2 separate regions of the Homo sapiens genome follow, and region 1 is linked to region 2. The links are contacts of gene promoters, found by promoter capture Hi-C in human tissues and cell types (Jung and others, 2019). All regions are on one chromosome and are shown on one strand. Each heading gives the region's core, a stretch centred on a gene start or on the middle of the fragment in contact. The rest is flanking DNA. Distances are from core to core; before and after follow the strand shown. Region 1 overlaps KATNA1 (katanin catalytic subunit A1). Region 2 holds the start of KATNA1 (katanin catalytic subunit A1).

The links. Contacts are between HindIII fragments. The study calls those that stand out against the background at their distance.
Region 1: a contact is called between a fragment that was not itself captured here and the fragment with the promoter of KATNA1 in region 2, in 1 of the 25 tissues and cell types used here (liver).

The regions. Positions count from the first base shown.
Region 1 is chr6:149,596,363-149,600,483 of GRCh38, forward strand. It overlaps KATNA1 (katanin catalytic subunit A1), which reads right to left. Exons shown (of 11, transcript NM_007044.4): 8 at 1,862-1,988; 9 at 1,145-1,279; 10 at 701-827. Among named protein-coding and RNA genes, the nearest start is that of GINM1, 32 kb to the left of the region's middle. The HindIII fragment of the contact is 3,845 bases long and covers 1-3,221 here.
Region 2 is chr6:149,646,126-149,650,668 of GRCh38, forward strand. KATNA1 (katanin catalytic subunit A1) reads right to left here and starts at 2,589. Exons shown (of 11, transcript NM_007044.4): 1 at 2,344-2,589. RefSeq lists an enhancer at 2,389-2,468 and a silencer at 2,539-2,808. The HindIII fragment of the contact is 16,640 bases long and covers 1-4,543 here.

The sequences.
Region 1 (4,121 bases), core at 49-2,548, 51 kb before region 2:
CGTCTCTACTAAAAATACAAAAATTAGCCAGGTGTGGTGGTGCATGCCTGTAATCCCAGCTACTCGGGAGGCTGAGGCACAAGAATCACTTGAACCCAGGAGGCAAAGGTTGCAGTGAGCCGAGATCGGACCACTGCACTTCAGCCTGGGTGACAGAGCGAGACTCCGTCTCAAAAAACAAAACAAAACTGGAATGTGGGTCTTTATTCATCTTTTTTTTTTTTCTTTGGACACAGGGTCTTGCTTTGTCGCCCAGGCTGGGGTGCAGTGGCACAATCATGGCTCACTGCAGCCTCAAACTCCTGGGCTCAAGCGATCCTCCTGCCTCAGCTTCCTGAGCAGGTGGGAACCACCATGCCCGGCTAATTTTTAAAATTTTTTTCATGGATATGAGGTCTTGCAATGTTACCCAGGCCAGTCAAACTCCTGGGCTCAAGTGATCTCCCACTTGGCCTCCCAAAGTGCTGAGATTACAGGCGTGAGCCACCACCAAGATATTGATCTGTCTTAATTCAGCATAAAAACTTCACGTCAGAGGATCACTTGAGCCCAGGAGTTTCAGGCTGCAGTAAGCTGTGACTGCGCCTCTACTCTCCAGTCTAGGCAACAGAGCGAGACTGTGTCTCAAAAAACAAAACCAAAAAACTTCATACTAGAAGTTTATGCTTACAAAAACCTATGCTTCCATGATAATTCATACCTGCACACGTTGGTAATGTCCGCACCTGAATAACCTTCCATGTTTTCTGCTATACTTGCAAGGTCAACATCATCAGCCAATTCCAACTCACGTAGACTTATTCGTAATAGCTCCTCCCTGCCTTTTGCTAATGGTAGAAACAAATTTTAAAATGTAAGCCTGCAGCATAAACATAGTATACTATTGTCTCAAATCTTCTTTGTGTGAGATGTTGTCTTCCAGTAAGAATTGGATCTCTAAGAAGAGATAATTAAGTAAAGAGCCATTCTTTACTTTTTAATTCCTTACTATTTAGTATTAAGGCATATAGCCAAACTAGTACTGTAAAGGAAGATACTCCTCATGTATCTCTTCCAGAAAGTTAGTTAATAACAAATTTTAAATTCTCTAAACAAAACTACATGAAAGTTAACAGGCTTTCTGACAAGATTGAAAGGAAGATACCTGACGGCAAAGGAATATAGATTCGTTTCTCAAGGCGTCGTCTTAAAGCCTCATCTATATCCCAGGGAAAATTAGTAGCTGCCAGAACCATAACCATTTTGGAAGGGTCATCATTTTCAGAAGTACCTCCAACACCTAAAATAAGGGTAAGGGGAGAGTGAAAAAGATATTAAGTTGGATTATACCAAATGAAGCTCAGCTATTTAAAGATCAACAACTATTTAGTACAACAATACAAGGAAGCACAGTCTTAATGCCTCCTTAAGACTTAGGTTAACTGGTACCTATGTGAATTTGTAATCCAAAGAAAATGAGTTCTGTAGTATGCAAATATATGACTCAAAATAGATTTAATCGAAAAGCCAGATCTCAAATACATAACAATTTTAAATCTTTTTCAAAGCGTACATAAACTCTAAGGCCAATTTATCTGCATTTATTTTTATTTCAATTTCATAGCTAAAGTAAGATAGTTGTATATACCAAAAGGGTGCCCTGTGTGTGGCCATTAATTCTGACTTGTCACCACTGTCAGTGTACCAAATCTATTACTATCACTATCAGGAACTTCTTGCCACCCCCTCTAGTCCATCTGAAGTTAAGAATACCTATTAAAAGCTTGGGTTAGCACTATGAGTAAAGTTTGACCCACTGGAACTGGAGACACCACACCTAACAACCTCCCGTCCCTGTTCAACTCAAGCTAAACACAGATACCATCCATCTGAACCAGCAGCTCCGCTTTCACCCTTCTGCTTGCTTCATGTTCTTCAGAAGTCCCTCGGCGACTACAGATGGAGTCTATCTCATCAATAAATATGGTGGCTGGAGAATAAAATCGAGCCTAAAGGAAGAAACCATGCAATATCAAGCTATTAAGCTATTATTTCATTTTAAAATAATCTACAGATTAGCAATCAGAAAATAGCTGAGGGAGGCTGGGCACAGTGGCTCACACCTGTAATCCCAACACTGGGAGGGTGAGGCAGGAGGATGGATTGAGCCCAAGAGTTCGAGACCAGCCTGGGCAACATAGCAAGACTCCATCTCTACAGAAAATTAAAATATTAGTTGAGTGTGGTTACACGTGTCTGAGTCCCAGCTACTCAGGAGGCTAGGTGAGAGGATCCCTTGAGCCCAGGAGTTCAAGGCTGCAGTGAGCTATGATCACACCACACCACTGTATTCCAGACTGGGTGACAGAGTGAGAACCTGTCTCTAAAACAAGAGGAAAGAAAGAAAACAACAAAACAGCTAAGGAGCCTGCCACACTGTGCATCTTTCTCTCACGCTAATACTGGGGAGATGGGATAGAATTAGAACAGCTAAAATATGGCTTCTAATGAACCGTTTTTTATTTATTTATTTTTTTTTAAGAGGCAAGGTCTTGCTCTGTCATCCAGGCTGGAGTGCAGTGATATGATTTTGGCTCACTTCAACCTTGAGCTCCTGGGCTCAAGCAATCCTCTCACCTCAACCTCCCGAGTAGCTAGGACTACAGGTGTGTGCCACCACACCAGGCTTATTTTTATATTTTTGGTAGAGATGGTGTCTTATTATGTTGCCTAGGCTGGTCTCAAACTCCTAGACTCAAGCAATCTTCCTGCCTCGGCCTCCCAAAATGCTAGGATTACAATGAGCCACTGTACCTAGTGGGATAATTTCATCTTTAAAGAGAGTCAATACTTGGGTCTTTATGTATAAATATTTTTGTACTTTTTCAACAAATGGAGAGAGGGAAAGAGTGAACTTCATCATCATTAAAACATCCAAGAAAATTCTCAACTAAAATTTTAGGAAGCATCTATCAAAAGCACCTACATCAACAAAAATTAAACTTCAGTCTGTTGCCACACCAAGCAAAAGTGACTAGACTGATTCTTCCCACATACTGAGGTTATGTAGAATGATCTGACTTCAAGGAAAGGCTATGTGTCCTGGGTTTAGCTGGCCCAGGAAGGTACGGTAGAGGACACCAATTGGTTCTCCCTGCACAGCACACTTCTGGTAAGAGAAGCCTCTTTTTCATTTGCAAATCATCCCTTTCTTTCTTTCCTCCCCTCTCCCCTCTCCCCTCTCCCTCTCTCTGTAACCTCTGCCACCCCGGTTCAAGCAATTCTCCTGCCTCAGCCTCCCAAGTAGCTGGGATTACAGGTGCACGCCACCACACCTGGCTAATTTTTGTATTTTTAGTAGAGACGGGGTTTCATCATGTTGGCCAGGCTGGTCTCGAACTCCTGACCTCAAGTGATCTGCCCGCCTCAACCTCCCAAAGTGCGGGGATTACAGGCATGAGCCACCATGCCGGGCCCCTCTCATTCCTATTCCACTACTTCAAAAGAGGCTAACTTTACTTGGAACTCCAGGGGTTTTATTCAGACCTGGCCAATCAGAGCACTCCAATTCTCTGACCAAAAACAAGGAGTTTCGGCATAGGTATGAAACTCAAAACAGGCCAAATATTAATCTTTGGACTTTTGCTGGAACTATGACAAAATGAGGGCTAACTTTGCTGAGAGTTCATTACCCTAAGGACAATAAAAATAAGGCTTGAAAGCTGAGTGCAGTGGTACACGACTGAAGTCCCAGCTACTTGGGATGCTGAGAGAGGAGGATGCAGTATGCTATGATTGTGCCTGTGAATAACCACTGCACTACAACCTGTGCAATATAGTGAGAGCTTATCTTAAAAAAAAAAAAAAAAAAAAAAAAAAGCTGAACACAATGGCTCTTGCCTGTAATCCCGGCACTTTATGGGGTCTAGGCAAGAGGAGTGTTAGGCCAGGAGTTCTAGACTGCCTGGGCAACGTAGTGAGACTTCATCTCTACAAAAAAATCAAAAAAGGCCAGGCGCAGTGGCTCATACCTATAATCCTAACACTTTGGGAGGCCAAGGTGGGCAGATCACCTGAGGTCAGGAGTTCAAGACCAGCCTGGTCAACATGGCAAAACCTCATCTCTACTAAAAATACAAAAA
Region 2 (4,543 bases), core at 1,339-3,838:
TAAAGGAACACCAACTAAGTTGCAAGGAATTGCACTGAAGACAAAAATAAGACAGAATTAGACCTTGAAATCCTTGAAGTTTAATAGAAGGGATATCACCTTATTTATTCTAGGTGGGTTTTCTTTGCTTAGTAAGAGAAGACAAACATAGAATATTATTAAACACAGACTAAAAAATCAGCAGCAATGTTGGAAGGCTGAAAGTGTTTTTTAAATACCTCTCTGTAAAATTTACCTCCTAAAACAAAAAGATCACGAAGCCCAATCATGCATCTTCCTGAAGGCATTTCAGTAAAGCAAGTGTATATGACTTCAAAAGTGGCCATACATTGGTAAGTAATTTTCAGAATGTTCATCTCTGGGATATGAAAGAAACCACATGCTAATTTATAGTCAGCCACTGATGATTACGAATAAGCACAATAAATGAATGACCCATGACCAATTACAGCATGGCATACATTTTTCTTACCTTTATAACCATCATATGATAAATACTTAAGCACAAGAAAGTTACCACTATTTTTTAAAAACACCAAAAAGCAACCTGTTCAGAAAAAAAGTACATATAAAGTCCACTCTATTTGTACAGTAAACTTTCAGTTTACCCTAAACAAACAAATCAGTGAGTTTAATTATTAAAACGTAATTTAAAAGTCATATTCAAGCCCTATCGATAAACGCCACAAGCAAAAGCTATTTGGCATGTTATCAACACTGACCATATTTATGTGATAATACTATCTTTTTTAAACAGTCAAGTGGCTAAAAAAACCCAAACTATTGTTAATAGAAATTCAACAATGTTGTTAATAGAGTGAATTCAACAAGATTCTCTAATCCTCAATATTTGTCAGCATCTTGATACCAGTTTCAAAATGAGGTGGAGAATCCCTTGTGGACTACATAGCATGCCTATTACCTATAAAAATGTAAACGCTTCTTGAATAACCAACGCTATAAAGAAGCTTTATATAGCTTTTCATAGTCTAGGAATGTTGGGAAGTTGATCACTACTGCGTGTTTTTTTTTTTAAAGGTATTTACAGGCCACAACTTGTTAATGTTAATACAAAACAAAGTTTTGCTCCTATTTCTTGGTATAAGAACAAAAACCGGCCGGGCGCAGTGGCTCACGTCTGTAATCCCAACACTTTGGGAGGCCTAGGCGGGCGGATCACAATGTCTGGAAATCGAGACCAGCCTGGCCAACATGGTGAAACCCCATCTCTACTAAAATACAAAAAATTTGCCGCGCGTAGTGGAGCGCGCCTGTAGTCACAGCTACTCAAGGAGGCTGAGGCAGGGGAATCGCTTGAACCCGGGAGGCGGAGGTTGCAGTGAGCCAAGATTGCGCCACTGCACTCCAGCCTGGCGACAGAGCAAGACTCCGTCTCAAAAAAAAAAAAAAAAAAAAAAAAAAGAACAAAACCCAGCTCTTTTGGAAAAGAAAATAGGGCTTTATACTGAGACATTTAAGCCCGTAAAAACATTTCAAGAATCTGTCTTAACATCTACTAAGGTGATTATCATTGTGATTACGTGACAAAGATCTACTGCACCCATTCTAAAACATCGGGAATGTTTTCAGCAATAACTAGAGGTCTAATTTCAAAGAGGAAGACGTAAATTAGTGCTTTCAAGAGAAAAGAGCATCACTGTGCTGTTGGAAGTTAGTAACTAATATAAAAGCGGCCCTTCGCGGTTTTAACAGGAAACTATTTTTGATTAAATAAGAGCTTGAGATTATCCACTGTAAGGCACTTCAGGATCTACGTTTATCTCTAACTTTGTCATCACATTTGTATGAAACAACTGTTTCGAGGGAAAACTTTTCTAAAAGGTACCAACTCTAAACCAAAAGGCCCACAGGCCTTCCAGAGGACGCCGGGCTCTAGAATAAATAAGAAATAACATCCCCAACAATATCACTCGAACCTAACAAATTTTAAGAAAAGAAGTTGCCTCCCAATGTCATGGCCATCGGGATTTTTACCTGTGAGGGTTTCGGGGTGGGGGGCGTGAGCGGGTTCTGGAGAGAACCAGTCGAAAAATCGAAGAACTAAAAACTCGGCTGGTGACTTCGCTAACGACACAGATCAAAAGATGGGATCGACAGGAGCCCCCGAAAAGTCCTCCGCCTGACAGGATTCCTCAGGTAGGGGGACTGTCACCTAAGCCAAGTTATCGTGGACAACAGCAAGGACCTAGGACCTCAGCTCAGGCACAGGCAGGCTCACGGAGGGTTGCGCGGCGGGTTCTCGCTGTGGGCCCCCCGAGTCCCTCACCAGCCCGGCCCTGGAAAATCGGGGGTCCCCAGAGCACCGCCAGAGTGAAAACTCACCTGCGGCGGCCCAAGCTCCTCGGGAAACCGCCCAACGCCAGGCACAGGGGATTGGCGGAGTGGAGATCCCGGCAGCGAGGAAGGAGGGCCTGACCCAGTCCAGCCCACTTTGCTCTCCGCTCACGGCCCCAGTACTGCCCAGTTCAATCGTCAACACCACCTGCCGGCGCGGCTCCTGCTCGCCGAGAATTTGAAGACAAACCCGCCAGGGTCACTTCCGGTGCCGGGGACGACCTCGGCGACTCTGGCGCACGCGGGGCGTCGCCCCGGGAGCGAGGTCGCTGGGCGGGAGCGGCGGAAGAGGGTGTGGCCGGGCCCGGGGCCGCGCGTGCGCATTCTTGCACCGCCTCCTCCCGGCGGACGCAGCGGAGACCAGGGATAGTATAGACCTTGGTGTAGATGGTATTATGGTACTACCTCGCGCGCCTCTGTACCTTGTTCAGGTGCTTGCTCACTTTCCCTCCCACTTGATTTTCACCACACTCACACACACACCGAGGTCAGGTGTCTATTTTAGAGGTGAATGTCCAGGATCAAGCAATTCGTTTATGACAAATCCTGTTTTAGAACCTAGTATTCAGAATTCCCCAGCTGGGCTCCATGTCATGACATAACAATAGGGAGGAGGTAAACAAAGATTCTCGGACACACTGCTAGTGGGATTTTATTTTCTTGATTTTTTAATCACCGTTTTAATATGACCAGACAAGGAAAATGATGCTATTTCATGACTTACAGATATGTACTGCACAGGGCTTCCTCCAGTCTCAATCTCCACCCTCTGCCATCACTTGAGGCAGAATAGGGCACTTCTCACACATTCCTTTAAAAACGCAAGGTAATTAAGTTTCTAACATTAAAGCATCCCGACTGGGCACAGTGGCTCATCCCTGTAATCCCAGCACTTTGGGAGGCTGAGGCGGGAGAATAGCTTGAGCCGGGAGTTCAAGACCAGCCTGGGCAATATAGTGAGACCCCCCGTCTCTACAAAAAGTACAAAAATTGGCTGGACATGGTGGCGCACGCCTGTAGTCACAACTACTCAGGAGGCTGACACAAGAGGATCACTTGAGCCCAGGAGTTGGAGGCTGCAGTGGGCCATGATGGCGCCATTGCACTCCAGTCTGGGAGACAAAGTGAGGCCCTATCTCTAAAAAAATAAAAGCACCCCAGTCATCTAACATAGACATGTAGAAGCAATTCAGGGGAAATACATCCATTCAGTCAACAAATGTTTACTCAGCAACTACTATGTGTGAGACAGTGTTGGCACTGGGTATACAGTGGTCACGAAATAGAATGTTTCATGGGGCTTAAAGTCTTGTAACGTCTCAACTGAGTGGAAAATGATAGTTTCACTGTAGTAAATATGAACTCTATTGTAATAGGGAACAGGAAACTATATTTAGTATATATTTTTGGAATCAAAACCAATTCAGGGAGGTACAGATTAATTACCCTAATTCAACCTTCATCCTTTATGTGAGTTCAAAGGTATGCTAATTTATAAAGCCAATTTACAGTTAAAAAACTTCTCAAAGGCCACAAAATTAATACATATTGTATGATTCCATTGATAAGAAATTCTAGGCCAGGCACGGTGGCTCATACCTGTAATCCCAGCACTTTGGGAGGCCGAGACGGGTGGGTCACTTGAGGTCAAGGCGTTTGAGACCAGCCTGGCCAACATGGTGAAACCCCGTCTCTACTAAAAATACAAATATTAGCTGGGTCTGGTGGCGCACACCTGTAATCTCAGCTACTTGGGTGGCTGAGGCACGAGAATCGCTTGAACCCAGGAGGCAGAGGCTGCAGTGAGCCAAGATCGCGCCATTGCACTCCAGCCTGGGTGACAGAGCAAGACTCTGTCTCAAAAAAAAAAAAAAGAAAAAGAAAAGAAATTTTAGAACAGGCAAAACTAATCTATAATAATAGCTGATCAGTGGTTGGCTGCCTGAGGCTGTATTCAGGAGGAGGGGGAGAAGAAATAGATTGCTGAAAGTCCCCAGGAAATATTTAAGGTGATGGAAAGGAAATGTTCTGTTAGGGTAGTGCTTACACAGGTGTAAACATTTATTAAAATTCATCAACAGTACACAAACTGGGCACATTTTATTACGTGTACGTACGCGTATTATATATGAAGATTTTTTGGGTTTTTGTTGTTGTTTTGAGACAGAGTGTAGCTCTGTCGCCCAAG